Regions from separate parts of the Homo sapiens genome. Here regions 1 and 2 are each linked to region 3. The links are contacts of gene promoters, found by promoter capture Hi-C in blood cells and fetal thymus (Javierre and others, 2016). All regions are on one chromosome and are shown on one strand. The core of a region is centred on a gene start or on the middle of the fragment in contact, and the rest is flanking DNA. Distances in the headings are between cores, read along the strand shown.

What was found. Contacts are between HindIII fragments. The CHiCAGO score rates a contact against its expected background, and 5 or more counts as called.
Region 1: a contact is called between a fragment that was not itself captured here and the fragment with the promoter of ACSL3 in region 3, in 6 of 17 cell types (total CD8 T cells, M1 macrophages, naive B cells and 3 more). The highest score is 6.2, in total CD8 T cells.
Region 2: a fragment that was not itself captured here is called in contact with the fragment with the promoter of ACSL3 in region 3 in 10 of 17 cell types (fetal thymus, neutrophils, M1 macrophages and 7 more); the score reaches 10.6 in fetal thymus.

Annotation. Positions count from the first base shown.
Region 1 is chr2:222,630,375-222,633,074 of GRCh38, forward strand. FARSB (phenylalanyl-tRNA synthetase subunit beta) reads right to left here. Exons shown (of 17, transcript NM_005687.5): 8 at 1,230-1,300. Among named protein-coding and RNA genes, the nearest start is that of FARSB, 24 kb to the right of the region's middle. The HindIII fragment of the contact is 1,318 bases long and covers 788-2,105 here.
Region 2 is chr2:222,678,704-222,681,403 of GRCh38, forward strand. The region is part of intron 1 of MOGAT1 (monoacylglycerol O-acyltransferase 1); the gene reads left to right. Among named protein-coding and RNA genes, the nearest start is that of MOGAT1, 8.4 kb to the left of the region's middle. The HindIII fragment of the contact is 4,623 bases long and covers 1-2,700 here.
Region 3 is chr2:222,859,767-222,862,466 of GRCh38, forward strand. ACSL3 (acyl-CoA synthetase long chain family member 3) reads left to right here and starts at 1,270. Exons shown (of 17, transcript NM_004457.5): 1 at 1,270-1,492. RefSeq lists an enhancer at 985-1,279 and silencers at 996-1,325, 1,396-1,765. The HindIII fragment of the contact is 2,380 bases long and covers 701-2,700 here.

The sequences.
Region 1 (2,700 bases), core at 197-2,696, 230 kb before region 3:
AGTTATAATCCATGACTGAGACAAATCGTTTCGTTCCCCAACCCCCAACCTCAGGTTCACTGGGCTTCAACAGAGACAAATGGCTAATTACTGGAATAAATCTTAACAATCTCCTAAGTCTCTGAGGCCAGGCTGCTTGAATCCTGGCTCAAGCACTTATTAACAGTATGACACTAGGCAAACCACTTTTCTTACCTGTTAAGGAGATAATGAAAATTCCTATCTTGTCTGGTACTTACAAAGATTAAATAATTGGCATGTAGTAAACACCATATAGATTTGTTAAATAATTTTTCTATTTCAAAAAAAATTCTTAGAAAAAAAATACCGTGACCTTATTGGAATATATGCTTTACTCTTATATAAATATTTCACTCCTATATATACAGGCTTCAGGAAAGACATTCAAGGTCTGTAAATGCACGAATTAAATTTTTTAAAAAATTAATATTAAAAGCTGTACTACCCTGACAATATTTCTGAAGGCAAGGAGTACCTAAAAGTTATAAAGGAAATACCTTACAATGGTCTCTAATCCTATAAGATGTACATGAATACCATTTATTTGCCCTATTTCTATACTCCAGCCTTCTCCTGCCATTTGAGGTTACCTTTTTTAAATTGTTTAACTGCCACCTCATTTAACATATGTAAAGAAGTCATATGTCATAGAAAAAGCTTTCATAGCAATCCATTCCAATAGATGAACTGACTCAAAGTGGGTGAAGAATTATATTCTAGATAATTTTGTGTGCATAAACCAACCATCTATCAATTTACTAAATAAAGCTTCTTCATCGCCAGTTCCTTTTTTTTTTTTAAGATTTTAACAAGTACACAAAGGTACCAAATTACTCCGCATATAAATTAAGTCAACTAGATAAACAATTTATATGGATTTCGCTATAGTACTCATTCCATTTTGTGTTTTATAGTTACGTATATGACTAACTCTCCCCCTAGGAGTTCTTTGAAGTGAAGAGACATGTAACTCATTATTAAATTCTTGGCACTGGAAAGACATTTGGTGCTCACTAAACATTTGTCGAATTAATGAAAGCACCATAACCAAAGTGTAGAATATCTCTATCTTTTTAATTGTCTAAATTTCTAAAATATGTTCCCACCTACAAAATGCACATATTTTAAATTTTAGCCACTTAGTCTTGGTCCGGAAATAAAATCTATCCCAGCTGATCATACAAAAATTGAGTAAAAGTTTTACTTACCTTAGTAAAGTCAGTTCCCGTGCATTCAATAAAAATATTTCTAGTATTTACTGTTATTCTGGAATGATCCCCTGCAATGAACACAAAACAATAACATTAAAATAACTAATTTCAGAAATAGAAGTGCACTATTAAGCTCAACAAAACAGAAACTACATTTTAAATGTAAAACATATTAAAAACTAACACCTTGGCCAGGGATGGTGGCTCACACCCACCAGCACTCTGGGAGGCCAAAGTGGGCGGATCACCTGAGGTCAGGAGTTCAAGACCAGCCTAACTAACACAGAGAAACCCCTTCTCTACTAAAAATACAAAATTAGCCAGGCGTGGTGGCGCATGCCTGTAATCCCACTTACTTGGGAGGCTCAGGCAGGAGAATTGCTTGAACCCGGGAGGTGCAGGTTGTGGTGAGCCGAGATGGTGCAATGGCACGACATGGTGCAATGGCACGACATGGTGCAATGGCACGAGAGTGTGCCATTGCACTCCAGCCTGGGCAACAAAAGCAAATCTCTGTCTCAAAAAAATAAAAATAATAAAAAAAAAACCTAACATCTTAAGAGCAAAGGGATAAACAACTTATATTTAAAGCTCCTACTGCAAGTTGAAGAATAAAAATAAAATAATTAACAGGCCTTTACTGAATGCATACAATGTGTCAGGTGCTATGCCAAGCACTTAACATAGGTTGTCTCCTCTAATCTTTACCACAATCCTATGATGTAATTGCTGGCAAGAAACTAAATTCAGAGAGATTAAACTATTTGACCATGATCATGAGCAGCAAGGCTAGGATTTGGGTCTAGAACTGGTTAACTCTGGGGCCCATGTTCTTAACCACTGTAACTACTAGGGTCCAAGATCTTGAGAAGAAGCTTCTCCTTCTCATAGCAAATCAGCTAAGCCTCCTTCTTACCTCCAGAAACGCAAACATCTATGTCTCAGACATCATTAAGTTTTGTAAATACATTCAAACTGCCTCATAAAAATAGCCTTCAGAAAGGAATTAAGAGGGCAAAATTTAAATTAAAAGTTTTTGTTTAACTATATAACTAGGCAAGGCCAGGCACGGCAGCTCACATCTATAATCCCAGGGCTTTGGGAGGCCAAGGTGGGAGAATCGCTTGAGCCCAGGAGTTTAAGGTTGCAGTAAGCCATGACTGCACCACTGCACTCCAGCCTGGGCGACAGAGCAAGAGCCTGTCTCAAAAACAAAACAAAAAACAACAACAACAAAAAAAAAAAACAAAAGAAAAAAAACTACAGACATGACAGAGTTTGACTTTGAGTTTAACCAAGTGAATTACTTGCTAAAACCAAAACATCAATAACCTTTGAAGAAACATAATAGAACCCAAAACCTAGCATCAGAAAATATTTATAAATGTATGAGCATAAGTTACATAAGAATCACCAATAAAATGTTGTTGAATAAATGAATGAAAAGAATGATTAGAATCTACAAAAG
Region 2 (2,700 bases), core at 145-2,644, 180 kb before region 3:
GCCGAGGCAGGTGAATCACCTGAGGTCAGGAGTTCAACACCAGCCTGGCCAACATGGGGACACCCTGCCTCTACTAAAAATATAAAAATTAGCTAGGCATGGTGGCGGGTGCCTGTAGTCTCAGCTACTTGGGAGGCTGAGGCAGGAGAATTGCTTGAACCCGGGAGGTGGAGGTTGCAGTGAGCTGAGATCGTGCCATTGCACTCCAGCACCTGGGTGACAAGATCAAAAAACTCCGTCTCAAAAAAAAAAGTTCTTTGCTTAATCCAAGGTCACAAAAATTTTCTTCTATATTTTCTCCTACCAGTGTTAATAGTTTTAGGTTTTCCATATAGATCTATGATCTATTTAGGGTTAATTTTTGTGTGTGGTACAGTGTCTAAATCCATTTTTCTGCATATATATAATCCAATGGTTCCAGCTCTTTTTTGGTAGATCACTATCTGCTCTCTACTGCATTGCCCTTGTGCCTTTATCAAATATCAATTGCCCATATATGCATGGGTTTATTTCTAGACTCTCTAGTCTGTGCCATTGATCTGTTCATCTATCTTGATGCCAGTACCCTGTTGTTTTGATTATTATAGCTTTATAATAATTCTTGAAATCAGATACTGTTAGTCTTCAAACTTTGTTGGTGGTATTGTTTTTCACAGGTGTTTTGATTATTCCACGTCCTTATCAGTTCCATATGCATTTTAGGATCAGGTTAACAATTTCCACACCAAAAAACCCTCCTGGGATTTTGATTGGGATTGCTGTTTGATTGGAATTAGCTTATAGTTTAATTTGTAGAAAACTAACTGAACTGATTACAGTACATATGTCCTAAAACCAAGAACATTTCTCTTCCACAGCCACAGTACAATTACCCAAATCAGAAAAATAACAATACAATACTATGACCTATAGACATTATTCATATTTCAGAAGTTCCCTTACTAATGTCCTGTATAGCAAAGGAATCCACATGTTGTATTTAGTTGTGTTAAACAGAAATTATGAGCAGTCATTGTTTTGGACTGAGCTCCTGCACTAGGCTCCAGCAGACCTGAGCAAACCAAAGTGGAGTCACTCATCCTATGTGCCACATGATCAAACTTGAAACTTCAAGGAAGCAGGTAGATCTCCAAACAGACCAGTTTTCCTGAAAACAGGAGATTCAGTCTGCCTGAGTCCGTGTAATAAGGAAGTCTGCTTTGCTTTAACTTTATGAAAAAGCAACCTGAAGTGACATGACAATAGCCAATCCACTTTTTCTTCCCTCTTGTTCTGTTTTCTTTGTTTCTACCTTACCCACTGTTCCACCATTTCTCGGTAAAAGCTCTCCTTCTATTTTGCAGAATGGAGGCTGCCCTGATTAATGAATAGTGAATAAAAGTCAATTAGCTCCATAACTAAATTTGCTGTAATTTTGTCTTTTCACATTATTTTGTCTTTTTAGTTCCTTCAATCTGGAAAATTTGGAGAAAGTACATTTTAACATTACGCAAGGGATTCTTGGGCTTTCATAAACACTAGTGTGTCTCTTTTATTATGGATTATCTCCATGGATTTCAGGTTGAACTATACAAAGTATTTGTGTTTATAGAAACCTTCCTGAAAGATTTAGAACATGGGGCTGGTTTCAGCCAGATCTTTGTTATAATTTATTTGCCTTCATCAGGCAAGGAAGTAGGTTCAATATTGGCTGTGCTATAAAACAAGAGAAAGGTATTTCCCTGTATGTAACACTTTTTAAAAGCAGTGTAGAATAAACACACATATGAAGAAAACTAGGCTGCAAAATTCTGCAAAGGGGTCTGATGAGATTTGTCTTTTAGCACAATCCTTAAAAACTCTGGGAGGCAAGTTCTCTTAAAATAGAAATTTTTAAAATCAGAAGAATTTACACTTACATTCTTATATTCTACAGATGGCACGGATAGGTATTTAAAAAATATAGTGTCTCCGGGAATAAGAAGGAAAAGAGGTGCTAATGGATTTTTGCTTGCCTCTGAATTTTACTTACTTTCTCCATACTACGTTAAATGGTTAAAATAAGTATGGAAACAGTTTTCATGCAGAAAAAAATGAAAATTTTTTGGATGAGAATAGGAAGAAACAATACATATACAAGTTAAAGTCTTAAATTATTTCTTAATTATGGTCATTATTTAATGCAAGTAAATAAACATTCAGTGGCTTTCACAATGTTTTGGCTGATGCAGGTTGCTCATGGAGATTTTATAGAACAATTTCACTTATTGTAAATAGCTAGGTGAGTGGAATGGAGTCAGAAAGGGTAGCGACAAGAGAGGGAAAATCATTAATGTATGGGAATTGTCTGTGTAAGCACTTAAGCGCTTTCAAGAAGCCACAGACCTGGCCACCACTCCTTGTCGAAAGTCTTCAATTCATGGAAACTGAAAATTTATGTCCCTGGTTTTGCTGGACCAACCCTTCTCCAACTCTCCAGACACCAACTAGGTATTCTATAGTTCAGTTCTGATGCTGTCTACCTGGAGCTAGGTCTCACAGGTGAAGAGCTCAGTCTACAAGACTGCCCCAACTTTAGATGCCAACCACAAGTCCAGGTTGGCACTTGTGCTTCTTTCTGACGGCTACAAATTGAGGATTCACACGACCTCCTCCTTGGACTCTGTCATTTGCTATGATGGCTCATAGCACTCAGGAAAACACTTATGTTTGGCAGTTTAT
Region 3 (2,700 bases), core at 20-2,519:
AGAAGTACTACTTCTAAAGCCTGCTTCTCTCTGCAGAGCTGCGAATGTCTTTTCAGATAAGAAATTCTGCATTCCATTTATCTTCAGGATGTATCCTTTGATAAGATTTCAACAGATTAATGAGCAACTGAACTGCCATATTTTGAAGTGGGAGAACAGTTTGCCTGAGTCAGGTATCCATCCCTTTAGGTTCTCGATTGGCCCTTGGCCCACGGTGAGTGAGCTCTCTTTGCTTGGTGCATCATCGCTCCACCTAGTTCAAGTTCTGGCGGCTTCCTGATTTTGATTCTCTTGGGAAATGAGGCCTGCTTTAGCCTGAGGCTGGCTCAGGAAGGCAACCTTTCACCTACTTAAGGAAAAGTTCACAGGCAAACTAAACAATATGTTGGGTTAAAAAAAGAGACCAATCCTACTAGTACTGGGTGAGTGAAAATCTTCTCTCTTACAGTACATGTAGTTCTACTACCTGCACTGGATGCTTTCTTTCTTATCCTTGTTTAGTGTCTAAAACGAGAAACAATGGCAAACTCCTTAAAATACAGAACCACTGTGGATTCCTAAGAACGTTCAAAAACAATAATTTGGAGTAAACTTTATTTTTTGAAAAGAAATAGCAAATTTGCATGGTGAGTGCATTTAGAGGAAAACGGGTTATATGCTAGGTCAAGTGAGGCCAAAACAAGAGAAATGATAATGGATAAGCTTTGAGTTTTTGAGGCTCTTCTTGCCCCAGGCAGTTCCAAAAGCCATTTTATTTGGCAGGATTTGACAGCAATTTCTGCAAGAACGGGATAACTAATCCAGTTAAAAACGAAAAAGAATATGCATACTATTTCATAATTTATATTGAAATTTATACATTACAGCAATAATTGTGCGACTGTAATTTTTTTTTTTTTTTTTTTGGTGGAGGGGTGTTTTTTCCTGGAGGGACGGAGCTCCTGCAGACCCTATTGGGCTAGCCGCTCCTCCCACGTCGCTGCCGCAGATCCCCGCTCCCCTCCCCCACCCGCGGTCCGTCCCTCCTGGTCGACCCCGTTCCCGCCCCCGCCCCGCGCAGACTGCAGCCAGGTCCGGTCCGCGGCGGCTCCGCGGAATGACCCGTAGTAACCTCGCCCCGCCCCGGGCCGCCAGCGCCGCGCTCCCCGGCCCGAATTCGATAGGCCCAGCCCCGCACGCGCCACCGCTCGCGGGCCAATGGGTGGCAGCCTCTCTGCATAGGCAACGAGTGCCGGCCGGGGGTGAGCGTCCCAGGCGGTTCCGCTCAACAGACGCTGCTGTGGCTGCGCCGGGCTGCGACACTGCAGTTGTCTACGCGGCCGGGGCCGGGACGAGGAGGCGTTGGACGGGGTCGCATACGTTCGTCCCCTCGCATTGCGGCCCCGACAGCTGCGCCAGGATCCCCGGGCGGCGGCGCGGGGCGTGAACGCTCTGGGGCTCAGCCAGGCCTGCGCGGGCCCGAGGCCGGAGGAACCCGGACTCCGGCGTAGCGGTGAGTGCGGCGCCGGTTGTGGGAGCGGCGGGAGCCGGTTGGCGGCGCGGCCTCCGCGTGCGGTTCGGCTGGGCCCGAGGGGCTCCCCAGCCTCGGGGCCTGGGACCCTGTCGTCGGCGCCGCACCTGACCGCTGGGTGTGCGCGCGGGCGGCCCGCGGCACCAGGAGCAGCGGCGAGCAGGGTGGGAGGCGGCCCGCTGGGGTCCGGGAAGCGGCTGACGTGGGGCCTCGGCCCTGAGCCCACGCGAGCCGGGAGCTGCAGCGCGAACGGCGTGGGGCGGCGCTGACCAGGCAGGGAGGATGCACTGCGTGCCTCCCGGCGCTGTGGGGCGGGGTGGGGAGGCCACCCCCTTGAATTAAGAGGGCTCTGCCGCGGCCCCAGCAGTGCGGTGTCCGTGGAAGGAGACTCAGCCCTGCGATTTCGGAAAACCCTTGTTTGGCGGGGCGGGAGGGGCTGTTGCTGCGTGGGGTGAGAAGAAACTAGGTGCGTGAGGTGGGTCGACCTTGGTGATTGGTTCTGGGCACTATCGTGGTGGTGGGACTGGGATTAAGACTGTCGTTTGGGGTTTGAGAGTTGCAGCTTTGCTTTTCCCCAAGTGCGTTTTAATCATATACTGTTGATAGGTTGGGTAACTCGGGGACTGCTTACTACCAGCAGTCCTGTGGGGTAGGTGTTATCAGGCTCGTTTCACAGATGAGGAGCCCGAGGCACAGGTTTTCAAATGGTTTTCGCAGGAAGTCTGATACTAGAAAGTGTGCTCTAAGCTGCTGTATAAAAGATCCCTCGAAAATGAAAAGGCTGGAGGAATGTCTTTAAAATTATATGGAAGCTAGAAAGGCAGTAGGCTTTGTGAACGAAATTATAGCTGAAAAGAATGACAAATAGCTGACATTTATTGAGCTTTTATTACATGCCACGCACTGTTTGGAGAGCTTTATGTACAGTGTCTTCACACTGTTAACAGTCCTCTGGGGTGGGGGTTATTCCCATTTTACAGCGGGAGAAACTGCAGATTGGACGACTTAGCTTGCCTCAGATCTCAGCTAGTAAGAAGCTGGGATTCAGACAGGCCTGTGTAAATCCAGAGCTCTGAAATCTAAGCACTATATTTTGCTGCCTCTCCTTGGTGGCTGGCTGAATAGTTTCCACAGTGGATTTTAGTCTGGGTGGCCAGGAGAGTTGTAGTTTGATGATACCTTCTTTCATG